Regions from separate parts of the Homo sapiens genome. Here regions 1 and 3 are each linked to region 2. The links are contacts of gene promoters, found by promoter capture Hi-C in blood cells and fetal thymus (Javierre and others, 2016). All regions are on one chromosome and are shown on one strand. Each heading gives the region's core, a stretch centred on a gene start or on the middle of the fragment in contact. The rest is flanking DNA. Distances are from core to core; before and after follow the strand shown. Region 1 holds the start of HEY1 (hes related family bHLH transcription factor with YRPW motif 1). Region 2 holds the start of PEX2 (peroxisomal biogenesis factor 2). Region 3 has its middle 9.0 kb from the start of GDAP1.

What was found. The method cuts DNA at HindIII sites, captures the fragments that hold promoters and counts their contacts. A CHiCAGO score of 5 or more calls a contact.
Region 1: the fragment with the promoter of HEY1 here is called in contact with the fragment with the promoter of PEX2 in region 2 in 1 of 17 cell types (non-activated CD4 T cells); the score reaches 11.5 in non-activated CD4 T cells.
Region 3: a contact is called between a fragment that was not itself captured here and the fragment with the promoter of PEX2 in region 2, in 1 of 17 cell types (total B cells). The highest score is 5.3, in total B cells.

What each region holds. Positions count from the first base shown.
Region 1 is chr8:79,766,198-79,770,111 of GRCh38, forward strand. HEY1 (hes related family bHLH transcription factor with YRPW motif 1) reads right to left here and starts at 1,570. Exons shown (of 5, transcript NM_012258.4): 1 at 1,378-1,570; 2 at 1,022-1,097; 3 at 812-895; 4 at 454-535. The coding sequence starts at 1,466. It overlaps LINC01607 (long intergenic non-protein coding RNA 1607), which reads left to right and starts at 1,945. Exons shown (of 4, transcript NR_125410.1): 1 at 1,945-2,021. It overlaps LOC101927040 (a long non-coding RNA gene), which reads right to left. Exons shown (of 6, transcript NR_110954.1): 6 at 3,175-3,914. RefSeq lists an enhancer at 1,093-1,142 and silencers at 1,593-2,072, 2,113-2,472, 2,573-2,742. The HindIII fragment of the contact is 6,216 bases long and covers 1-3,056 here.
Region 2 is chr8:76,998,448-77,002,746 of GRCh38, forward strand. It overlaps PEX2 (peroxisomal biogenesis factor 2), which reads right to left and starts at 1,631. Exons shown (of 4, transcript NM_000318.3): 1 at 1,543-1,631. RefSeq lists an enhancer at 1,626-1,920. The HindIII fragment of the contact is 1,935 bases long and covers 1,602-3,536 here.
Region 3 is chr8:74,339,316-74,343,494 of GRCh38, forward strand. No RefSeq gene overlaps it. Among named protein-coding and RNA genes, the nearest start is that of GDAP1, 9.0 kb to the right of the region's middle. The HindIII fragment of the contact is 1,562 bases long and covers 1,649-3,210 here.

The sequences.
Region 1 (3,914 bases), core at 320-2,819, 2.8 Mb after region 2:
CAGACCTTGGTCTCCCGTTAGGTTTCCTTTACTTAACCAGAATACATTTCTTTCCTCAAGAGGCATGTGGCAGCACCTTTTTTTTAAAATCCCGTATACCAAAAATAAGACCACATATTGTTTTTAAATGCTTTTTCTCAAAATAGCAATGGACAAATGTGAAAGCTACCTGATCTGAATCAGGGCTGTCACAACTTTTGAAGACCTCACAAATAATAGGTATTTTTCCAAAAGATGCACTAGCTCAATCCGCAGAGAGCTGGGGTGGTGAATTCACTGGAGAAGATTCTATGTGCATTCGAAAATGTACTGACAGGGAACTGCACACACCACACACCGTTCTCTCCCCACCCCCAAAGAAAAATCAGGCAGCTACTGCACCAATCCTGGCCTTCAGCCGCTGCTCACTCTTTGCCAACCATTCAGAGCCCCCACTAGGTCTAGGAGATGTACCTTTCCCTCCTGCCGTATGCAGCATTTTCAGGTGATCCACGGTCATCTGCAGGATCTCGGCTTTTTCTAGCTTAGCAGATCCCTAAAGATGAGAATGGCAAAAGATTGATTTGGCACAAGTTCCTTTGGGGAACAATTTAAAATATGCAAACATATATACAAAGATACATGCTTTGTAAATCGTAAAGCATGGACTAAAGCAAAATCAGTTGTCTTCACAAAATACGCTGGTATCTGTGTACGAATTCATCTAGGCACAAGCAACACAGCTATTTTCCAAGGCGGATGAGATTAATGAGGGGAAGATTCAGAAGGTGCAGATAGCTATGCTGAGAGCTTTACCTACTTGCTCCATTACCTGCTTCTCAAAAGCACTGGGTACCAGCCTTCTCAGCTCAGACAAACTGTTATTGATCCGGTCTCGTCGGCGCTTCTCAATTATCTGCAGAAGGCAAGCAAAACAAAGGAAGGCATTACCATTACGACTGTAAATTTCAAAGACAAAAAAAAAGGTGGTTATTTCCGTTAATCAATAACAAAAATAAAAGGAGAGTGTAAAGAGACTCACTCCTCTCCGTCTTTTTCTGGCCAAAATCTGGGAAGATGTAGTTGGGGACATGGAACCTAGAGCCGAACTCAAGTTTCTGAAAAGAGAAAAAGAACAAACAAAAACTGAAATCGCCGTTAAACGAGGAGAGGTGATCTGAGAGGTCGCCCCCACACCCTCCCCGCACTCAGACTTTTTTTGCCACTTGGGCTGGAAGGCACCTAGGGGTTCCCTGGCCGCAGGCTGCCGCCAGCCTGCGACGCGCGGAGGTCAGCGCAGGGCACCGGCGCGCCAAGGGTCCTAGCCCGCTGTCACCGCGGCAGGCCTGCGCTCGCCTCCCGCTCTGGCTCGGCTCCGCTCCGCCGCCGCCAGCTCACCCATTCTCGTCCGCACTCTCCTTCTCCACCTCGATGGTCTCGTCCAGCTCGCTGTCCGAGGAGCTGTACTCGGGGTGAGCTCGCTTCATGCTGGCTCCCTGGGGGTTCCTGGGGAGGGTCGGCGCGGCGGGCAGGGAGGAGTTAACTACAGCGGCGCCTCTCCGCTCTCGGCTGCTTGCGTTCCGCACACACTGATCCCGCTCACGCTTTGCCTCTGGTTAAAACTCAACCATCCTTTCCCACGCTGAGCCCCTTCCCAGGGCCCTGGGGAGGGCGGGGGAGTGGGGAAGGCGGGCGAGGGGGCGGAGAGGCGGGGCGGCAACTCCAGGGCAACAGCCGCCCCCCGGCCAATCCGGTTTCTCGCGCCGCTGATTGGCAGCCGCTCCGGGGAGGGGCGGGAGCGAGGCCGAGGGCTCTAGCGGACCGCGCCCCCGCCCTCCGCGCCCGCCCCTGCCCGGCGGCGGTGCGTCGGCTCCGCGGGGGCTCTGTCCAGCCTGCACTCAGGGGAAGGAGGAGGCGCGGGCGGCGGGGAGGCGCGGGAGGCCGGGCCGGGACACAAGCCCGCCGGCGGCCGCGGCTCCTCCCCGCCCCGCGCGCCCCGATTGGCCTGGCCGCGCGCCAGGGCCGAGCCTGCAGCGCCTCCGGTGAGCCGCACGCGCCGCGGGCCGTGGGAAAGTGCCGGCGCCGCGGCCGCCAGCCAATCCGGGCGGCCGGCGACGGCGACGGCGGCGGCCGCGCTGGCGGCGGCGGCGGCGGCGCTGGGCGTCCGCATGAATGGAGAAGAATGGGCAGGCGGGGAGCCGGGCCGCGCGAGGGCGCGCCGGCGGGGGCTGGGCGGCCGCCGGCCGGGCCCCCAGTGTGAACCTGTAATCGGAGCCTGGGCGCCGGCCGGCCTCGGAAGCCGCCGCCTAGCGCCACCGTAAATCTCGCCCGCGTGGCCGCCAGTGCCCGGCGGCTGGAGGCGCGCGCTGTTAGTGGGGCCGTGCCGGGTGCACCTGGCCGGGCTGCGCGCCGGCGGCTCCGCGGAACCCGCAGGGAGCCGGGAGAGGGGGCGCCGGGCGCGTCCACAGTGGCCACCAGCCCAGGGGCCGGTCACATGGAGGAGCAAGCTGTGGGCTCAGGGGACGCTCTTTTTGATTTCTGGGACCGAGGCCGCACATGCAGCCAGACTCGTTTCCGCAGGGGCTTCCCAGCCGCGGAATGGAATGAATACCCCTGTGCATCTCATTTCCGGGGAAGGGGAGCACTTGTTTTTTCGGCCGCCTTGGGGAAAAAAAAACCCAACGGTCCCTGGGAATAATCATTATGCTGGGATTTTTTTGTTGTTCCCCCGCTGCCCCCCCCCCCGCCCCCTCCCCCCGGCGGCCAGATCCTCTCAGCGGGCGACAGGGTGGCGGTGCTGGCGTTTGCGTCTGAGGCCGGCCTTGCTGAGGGAATGCACGTCTCTGGCCCCAGACACACACCTCTGGCTTCGGTGGCTTGGCGTGGCGTGTACTGGGTGCCACGTGAAGTCCCCCCCGAGTCCACTAAGAAGACAGATTTTTTAAAAAATACAGTTGTAAATCTCGAAACTGATTTCTGATTCCAGAAACAGAATGGTTGTTTTAAATTTGAAAATCCGGTCTTCTGTCCCTTACAAAGGTACACAGCAATTCGCATTCATCTCAGATCCACTCTGAAGCTTGTAGTCCTGTCTGTGAGGGAAAGCTTAATATCCATCGGTGAGAATAACAAAAGGCGTTTTCTCTTTGCAAAAAGCTTCCTGGTTTCTAGACTTCCTTATTGATCTCAATGCTATTTTTTTTTTGAGATGGTGTCTCACTCTGTCGCCCAGGCTGGAGTGCAGTGGCGCGATCTCGGCTCACTGCAACCTCCGCCTCCCGGGTTGAAGCAATTCTCCTGCCTCGGCCTCCCCAGAAGCTGGGATTACAGACGCGCGCCACCATGCTCAGCTAATTGTTTTTGGTATTTTTAGTAGAAACGAGGTTTCACCATGTTGGCCAGGCTTGTCTCAAACTCCTGACCAAAGGTGATCCGCCTGCCTTGGCCTCCCAAAGTACTGGGATTACAGGCCTAAGCCACCGCGCTCGGCCTCAATGCCATCTTAACACATCCTGGATGCCAAGCACTCTGAGTGGCCGGCCTGGGCCTAATCCATAGTTCCTCTCTGGGCACCCCCATCCCTCCACCACCGCCCCCAACGGGAAATACAACCTCCTGGCTCCCACTGAAGCTTATTCCACTTCACATCACCTCCAGCCCTGAGCCTTTCCATGCAGCCCCTCTGCTTCCCTGTCTAGGCTGGGCCCTTCCATCAGCCAGCCTGGGTTTGTTGCTGCTGGCACCCCAGACCTCTGGCTTCCTGAAACTCCACCGCATGCTGCCTGTTAGTTGTCAGTCCGAGGTCAATCCCACCAGCCGACTTTCTCTCTGGAAGTGCAAATTTTAAGGCTCCTTCCTGGCCCTCCCAGTCTTCAGTCCAGGGCATCCATCACTACTTCCTGCCTCTTCCCTCCCAGAAACTGATGGTCCAGGCA
Region 2 (4,299 bases), core at 381-2,880:
TCAAATTTGTATTGATAAAATAAATTGAAACAGAATAGGGACATATTTGTAGCTTTTAGAAATAAATTAGCTGTGAATATATTATTTTTAAAAACTGTAATAAATGTACATTGAGTACAAATGAATAATTATCCCAAAAACCAGAATTTTAATGCTAGAAGAAAAGGCAGATCATCTCGTTTAAGACATAAATTTAATCTTCTTAACAAGAACCTTGTTATTCAAGCGGAACACCTAAATGGCTGCTCTTGTTAAAATAAACCTGAGGGTGGGCTTGCTTTGTCTCTCCCTGCACGGCTCCAGAAAATTTCTACACAAGTTCTCCTATGGAACAGTTTTAAAACCCCAGCTTGAGTACTAACACTAGTTTCTAAAAATAAGGAGAATACGGCCAAGAGGTAAAATTGTACAAAGGCAACTAGAGTCAGGACTAGAATCCAACTGTCTTGATTTAGTCTAATACTCTTCAGTCTACTAGTCTAGTATTCGCTCTATGTCCTGTTACTTCTATTTTTTTTTTTAAGAAAAAAATATGAAGGGTTTTTTTTTTTGACTCTGTAAATAATTCTTTCAAATCTCTTTCTGGCTCAAGATCACTCAACTGTAATCTTTCTGGAAACAAGTAATTGATAATATAGGTGAGATCAGATAAGTTAAAAGAGCCACCCCAAGTTCATTCTGTTCAGGATTAAGTAAAGGTAACACTTTAGGGGAAGGTGTTTAGACTACAAGCTGCGGTGTTGTGAGCGCCCAAGTATCATTTAATTGTCCGAAACGTCAAGATAAAATATTTCCGAGGGGCATCACGGAAGTTTAACAGAATGTGTTAGACTTGAACGTTCAACAGCTTGCTCATTTTGCCAAAAGCCCTTTCACTAAATGTGGGAAATTTGGAAAATGGTACCTCAATAAATAAACAAACAACGATTTTTAATTTAAGAACCCAGGAAAAAATGTTAACAATTCTCACATTCAGATTTCTTATCAAAAGTCAACGTGAAATATAACTAATTTATCGCAAGCAATTTTATCAGAAACTTTTCATTATCTCTTCCTCCATAAGAAAACCAAACTGCATTTACGTGCGCTTTCAACAGTGTTAGAAAACTAAGCACTCAAATTTTTTGTACTACATATAACACTTTACATGAACTTTCAGATATTAAGTAAAGTTTGGATCCTCAATTCTTTATAAAGCCGTTTATAAGAGGTAAATATCTTCACGACCGCCAAATGAGAGAAAAAGATTTCGAAGTTCGTCTCTTAAGTTACTACGTGGAATGCAGAGGGGCTCAACTGCAGCTGTGTGTGTGTTTATTTTTAATGCCGCGATCCTAAAAACATCTTTAGGAGTTTAGGTTTGCTTCACTGCCTTTCCCAAAATTCAGCAGCTTTGATTTGCCTTTTCCAGGGAGACAGGAAGCCAATAAACAGGGAAAAAAAAGCAAACGGCGACAATTACAAGGTCGTGAAACTCCACGACCTCCCAGCTGAAAACAAGACCTCGGGTTTGCACTCCGGCTCTCTAGGGCAGACACTGACCTTAGGAGTCTGCGAAACGCCCACGCTCCACGTAACTTTCTCTGAAACATTCTCTGGAAAGCTTGTCTTTTCCTAGCCGAATCTGGATTACCAAGGCTTCCGGAACTCGCAGGCTTCCGGAGCGACGCAGGAGCCGGAAGTGGCTGAAAAAAAAAAGAAAAAGTTACACCAACGAGAACTGCGCTTTAGCGGCGCTGCTGAAGGCACTGGATGGCCAAACAACCGCGAACGCCGACAAGCCGAAGAGCCGAAGGGCCGAAAAGCCGAAGCGGACACCCGCGCGCGGTGATTGGCCGGTTGGCCGGAAGAACTCTGTCTCTGATTGGCAGGAGAGTCACGAACCGGTCAGCCCCGGGTCAGGGGCCGCAAGTGAGGACACTACAAGTGTCGAGGGGCCTAGGGGAAGCCGGGGCTTGGGAGGGCAGGGCTTTCTCTGCTTGCGGACATCGCGAAGGGCCTCTGGCAGGCGCCGCCGGGTGGCGGCGAGACGCCTCCGCGCCTCCGGGGTTCCTTGTTCGCTGTCGGAGGAGGACCGGCTGAGGGATGGCCTGGTGGGGAGGGAGCCCTCGGGCAGGTGGCTGCGTCGGGCCTGGGGCAGTTGTGCTGCGCTTGGAGACCTGCCCGCCCTCGGGGCCTGTGTGCACAGGGAGGATAGGCTGTTTATCTCTGCAGGCTCAGGAAGGCAGGTAGCTGGCCCGTCAGTCATCCGCCCTGCAAAGCGCTCCCGAGAGACCCCGTAGAGCGGGCCAGCGCGCGCCTGGCCTGAGGTTTCCCGCCCCCGGAGGCCCTCACATCTCCCCGGTAACGCTTAGGAATTCGGGCAGCCAGCTCGCCTACCCCTGGGGAATCGAGGCAGAGCTTCTGGGAATGGGGTCTGAGGGAAGAGTGCTCACCAGGCAGTGACATGTAGCCGTTGAGGATCGCCACTGCCTTCTCGTTCTGTGGTATGAATGGCAGTGTCTCTCTAGAGAGTTAGTGCTTAAGTTTGAATGATGGCAGGCACTTCAGGATTCCAGCACGTAGTAGGGTTTAAGAACGTCTTAGTTCTTACCTCCAGTCTCGACTCACCGTTCCTACAAGGAACACTCACTTCTACGAAAGCTCTATTAGACATTCGAGGGAGAGCTTATACTGTAGAACCAGTGTTATTAGGAAAGTTTTTTTTTTTTTGCTTGTATTTTTATTTCAGAAACTACCCATGGAGCAGAGTTGCTAAAATAAAATTTATTAACTCTAATGCTATCCAAATTGTGAAACAATGGTACAAATGAGATAGAGTAGAAGCTACAAATTGATAGAGTATGTAGTTCACTTAGGGGTTTGGGAGTGGATTTTCTAGAGCTGCAACTGTCCAGTGTAGTAGTCACTGGCCACCTGAAAAGTGGCTAGTCTGAACTGAGGTCTGCTCTAAGTGTAGAACATGCACCAGATTTCTAAAGCGTGGTCTGAAAAGAAAAAGAATGTAAAGTATTTCATTAATTTTATATTGCTTACATGTCAAAATGAGAATGTTTTGGAAAATTTTAAATTACGTGGCTTCCATTATATTTCTATGGATACTGCTGTTCTAGAGAGTAAAAAAATCTCACTGAAGAAGAGTAGGCCTTTCGTTTAGCAACTGTGAAGAAAACCAACCACGCTGCACCTCTCAGGTAGCCTACAGATGTGCTGTGCTTCACTTAATTTTTGAGAGGGACGGGGGAAAATACACACAAAGACTTGATTGACATAGAGGACATTTTCAGAAAGCAAATTCTGGTTCATAGAGCCTTATGTATGTCATGTGAACATCACACAGTAGCGAATGAAAATAATAAAGATATCAAGAAACTTGAATCATATTTAATGAATCTCATTAAGAATGCGGGGAAACATGCAACAGTTAAAATTCTGTTGAAATTGTTTAAAATAAGTTCTAGATTTTAATGTTTAACCTGTAGATACAGTATACCTTCTTAATTTTCCCATGAGCTGGTGAGCTGAGGTTCCAGGGAAGCTTTGTTTCCAGTTTTTTAAAGATATATTTATTTTTCATTCATTTATTTAACAAAAGCTTTCTGAGGCCCGGGAGTTTTGCTAGGCAGTGTTGATAAAAATGTGAAGACAGAAAACAGACACGGCTCTTACTCTCTCAGAGCTAATTCATATCAGTTCAGAGGCAGTGAATAAGTAAATAATAACCAAGACAGAATATTTTCTTCTTAGTAAATGTTTACCTCTGTAAATGCAAAACATGAGTTATTTTAAACCTAGAATTTATATATTTCTAGTGACATGTTAAGAGTCTTTATTAGAACTTGGCTGTGGACTTAAAAATATTAGGAAAAAAATCAAAGTTAATTTGTTCATTAACTATGAGAAGTTAAAGAAGAAAAATTAAAATTGTTTTTTTAACCTTTACATAGAAAAGATGGAAACATTTTATAATAGCATTTTATATCCTCTTTAGCCTTTTAGCAACTTTTAGATTCTAAGAATTTAACAATAGAAATGTAAATAAGACATTGATTTATGTCCCTAATATAGTTTTAAAATGCTGACTTTAAGAAGTTAAATTTATTCTAGAATATTATGTAGTTCCTAAATCAATATATTTGAGTCTTTTAGGAAAAAGTTAAGTATGGATCTTATATTAGTTTACCATTAATACTATTTCTGTAACAAAGTTAGAAGCTCAAACCACCACCAATTTATTACCTTACAGTTCTGTAGTCAGAAGTCCAACATGGTTCTCAATGGCCTAAAATCAAGGTGTCC
Region 3 (4,179 bases), core at 1,180-3,679, 2.7 Mb before region 2:
GATTTTGAAGCTTTTGATGACATACAGCAGATAGATTTGGAAATGCCTAAGAACTTCTCATTTTAACTTTCCTCCTGATAGAATCTATTTGTATCACTGGTTTTAGTCTTGTAGACTTGGAGGGAGTGGTGAAAGATGAACAGGCAGGGCTCAGCCACAAGGGGAGAAAAACGTCATCCACCCCCCAGAATAGCAACAGCAATAAATATGGTCATGTCGCTCTTCTGCTGAGGCTAAAACGACAGACAGGATCACATTTACGGCACCCAGCAGGCCCACTGCTATGAGGGGTGGCTCAGGGCTTTGGAAGCAACGTGTACAAAAGTTGGTGCTGATTTCAGAGCTGTGACTTAGCACAGAAAGAAACAGGGCATAGGGTCTAGACCCCAACTCAGAGCTAGAAGGGGCTTGGCACCCTCTTGGCCACAGGGGAGGACATTCTAAATCAGCTTTCAGGACAACTGGCTCAGGGCTCTTGAGAGCGGAGCTGAGAACTTCCCTGCATGTCTGCCTGAGAACTTGCTGTTGTCTGCAGCTGCCACAGCCGTGAAGGCCCAGATGTAATCAGGAAGGTAAAAAAGAGGGCTCTCATTGATCATCAGTTATTTAAAGAGGGCCCATCAGATTTCAGTGACTTCTTTGCACAGAATCAGCACCTTTGCTCTGGGAAGTCTAACAGGAAGGAATATCTCCCTTCAAAACTCATCAAGGCTTCCCTTCCAGACCAAGCCACTGGATTTTAGCCATTAAGGCTCTAGATGCCTCAACTTCATCTCTCTATTTTCATATATATTCCAATTTCATATACTAAATGTCCATATCTCTGGGGAGTTGTGTTTTTACCATCTTCTTTTGCCACTTGAAACTGGTAGGATGGGGCTTATGCATTTTCATAACTTGCATACAGCAGGAGTCTCTTAGGCTGAATAGTTTTCAAGCTAACATATGTAGCTGATTCTTCATATGTGCTTTGGAAACCAAGGCATCACCTGAATTTGACCAGTTTCCCTTTTTTCTGTTAAACTTCCCTGCTCCAAAATGATGCAGTTTCATAAAGTGAAGCTTTTCCGCTCTGCCATCTTTGTGGTTCACCGACTTTTCCAACCTGTCCCCGCAGGGAATCCCTGGAAGCAGGTTCACTTTGGCCACATCACCCCTTTCTCTCATGGAACTTTAGTAACCACAGACTCAACTCCGTGCTTTCATTTGTTTCAATTACATACTGAGGATTTAAATTGATCTTTTCTTTATGGATTGCAATATTACTTTTATTTGAAAAATATAGTACTTAAGTGAAAGCCAATGTTGTTTTACACTTTGGTGTCTCTGTAAAATTCAGCACTATATTCTATTGTCACTGTTATCTTATGCTTCTTTAGGATCTTATTAAGACAAACAAGGTAAGTGAAGTATGTTTTTATAGTACTGTAATCATTCTCATATTTGTGCTGTCACTGTCCTTGGTAACGGGTGGTTAAGAAAAAAAAAATCATACCAGTGTGTTGAAGCTGGTGCCAAAGAAACATAAATGATTATTGCTGCTCATTGTCTGCTGCTGCCCAGAACTTTAACTTGCCCTATTTATACAGTTACAAAGCAAAATCTTACTTAGAGAAACCTTTGCAACATTAGCATTTTCTTTCTTTAAAGCTTATGTCTCTGAGTTTTTATGCCGTGTTTCTCACGTAGCCAGAGACAATGCAGACATAAATTAACTTTTCTGTGTATTATTTAGTGACGAAAAGAACACAACAGCAAGGATGTTTGAAAAATAAATTCCAGTGTATTCTTAAATACTCTAATTTGAATGACAAAGCTATATTCCAAATGATCTTAAGTCTCTGGAAAGATTCCTTTAAATATGAAAAGAGAATGATAAAATAAGATGTCCAGGAAGACTACTTGAATCATTTACTGGGAAATAGCAAGAAAAAGGCACTCTCCACTGAGAGGATAGTTAAAATGTACAGAAACACATTTTAAATTAGTAAGAAAGCACTTAACTTTAGGAAATATAACTAATTAAAAGCTGCAATTTCAAACCTAAGCATTAAGTATCCTCTGTGCAGTGTGCGTTTCTAAGATTGTGTCTAAAATATCCTACAGGCTTTTATAGTTGCATTTATAAATATAACTCTTAATTATTCTTAATAAGACAAATGTTTGTGATACTATTAGTTTTATTCAAATATTGGATGACAGTGGGAAGTGCCTCCTTTTTTTCTCCTAGATTTTTCTTACTTTCATACTATAAGTGATTTTTGCAGAATATTAATATAACCATTGAGATGTTCTTTTAATGATTTTCAACAGGCTTAGCATGAAGTCAAGAAAAGAATCTGTGGAAATATGAGTAGTATTTAAGAATTTTTATTATTTGTTATTTCTTTCATCAACTGTAATTTCCAGCTAGTGGTGATTATTTCACATGTATTTTTGAAGTATAAATACCTAAAATTCATTGTAAACCATTAGAGAGAATTGCCAAAAATGAAGTTACAGAGTGCAGCCAATCTGGCAGGATACACTGGAGAACACATTATTAGCTGACATTTACCCAGAGTATTCAAAAAGTCAGTTATTTTTACCATTCTATCATTATTATCTATTATACTTCTTATGTGCCATGTGCTAAAATTGTGTTAGTTAACATGTTAAAAATCACAATGAATCCTCAAAATATCCCAATAAAGGTGGTGTAATTACTTTACCTGGATTATAGATGAGGAAGCCGTGCCCATGATCACATAGCTAGTGAGCAGTGAAGCCAGATTTGAATCCAGTTCTGGCTTTAGATTTTGAGCTCTTAACTACAACTCCATATTCTGGAGTGAAGGGTAATGCTATGTTACAGTGGAGAAATTACATGGTGAAGCCATTGCCCTCATACACTGGGAAGATTCCATGACCGAATCAATGTGTCCAAAAGCCAAGAAACTGAACTGAAGTCAGGCTGTGTTGCCAATAGGTAAAGAGAGGGCTCTAGAGTTGGTTCTGCATACAAGCTGAGGCAAGTGGTAGGCCACACCGAGGCTGTGGGAAATGATTAGAGCATACAGTGAGTTTGCAGCTAGAAGCGCTGGGTTTTAGTTCCAGCTCTACTGATTATTAGTGAGGTAGTGAACTTCACACCTCAGTGCTAATTTCTTATTTCTACTGGAAGGGTTGTTGGAAAAATCAAATGAGTACTGTTTACAAAGGCACTTTGTAAGCTTTTAGAAGGAAATTAGATATTATTAAAGCAATGTTGGGACAAATTTGTAATAAGTGTTGGTTTACTTTTAGCAGGATATTCTCTCTACTCTGTTTCTCCCAGTTTTTTTCTATGAACTCAAAACAATCTTGGGCAAAAATTTCCTAAGGTAAAATAATTAGTGACTTAAGGAATAGGTGATATTTATATGTAGGACTAGTGAAATCAAACTGATGACTGTGATTGTGCCTCATACAGTAAGGCCAGATCGTGTAGTGGTAAGAACACAATCTCTGGACCAGACTGTTGGGTTTAAGTCCCAATTTTGACATGAACAGTGTGAGTTTGGGAAAATTTTTGTTCCTCAGTATCCTCATCAGTAAAACAGGGATGAGGATTTCTCCCTGCTTTAAGGGATTTTGCAAGTGTTAAGTACAATATACATATAAAGCCCTTAAAACATTTCCTGGCACACAGAAAACACTCTAAGAAATATTAGCAACCACGTGGTGCAAATGCATCTTTGATTGGTCTATATTCATATACTTATTCTGAATATGTACACCGTTCATCACAGAAGAGATGGATGAAAGAGCATAGATAGATATGTCAAATATTTTTCACAAGAAAAGTGAATTTTCACTTAAAGTGAATTTCCTATTAAAAGAACTTAGTGCATCATTAACATTATTAGCCATTCTTTGGGAAACTAGAATATTAAACTATTATAAGTCTACAGTAACCTCAAAGCAAAGGTGTCCTGACTTAATGAGTTGCACTTGTTATTAAATATGATTATTTGTTCTGGGATGCATTGAAAGAAAACATTTTAGAGTTTCAAAATCAAGTCTGGGCTGTTCTAAGGTTGTTGAGGCTTTTGCTTAGAAGCCCTCAGAGGGTAATCTATGGTTTTTGAGGGGAAGGTGGTGGAATCTTAGCACCATGAACCTGGGGCCTCTAACTGGTGGCTTGACACCATGAGGTTT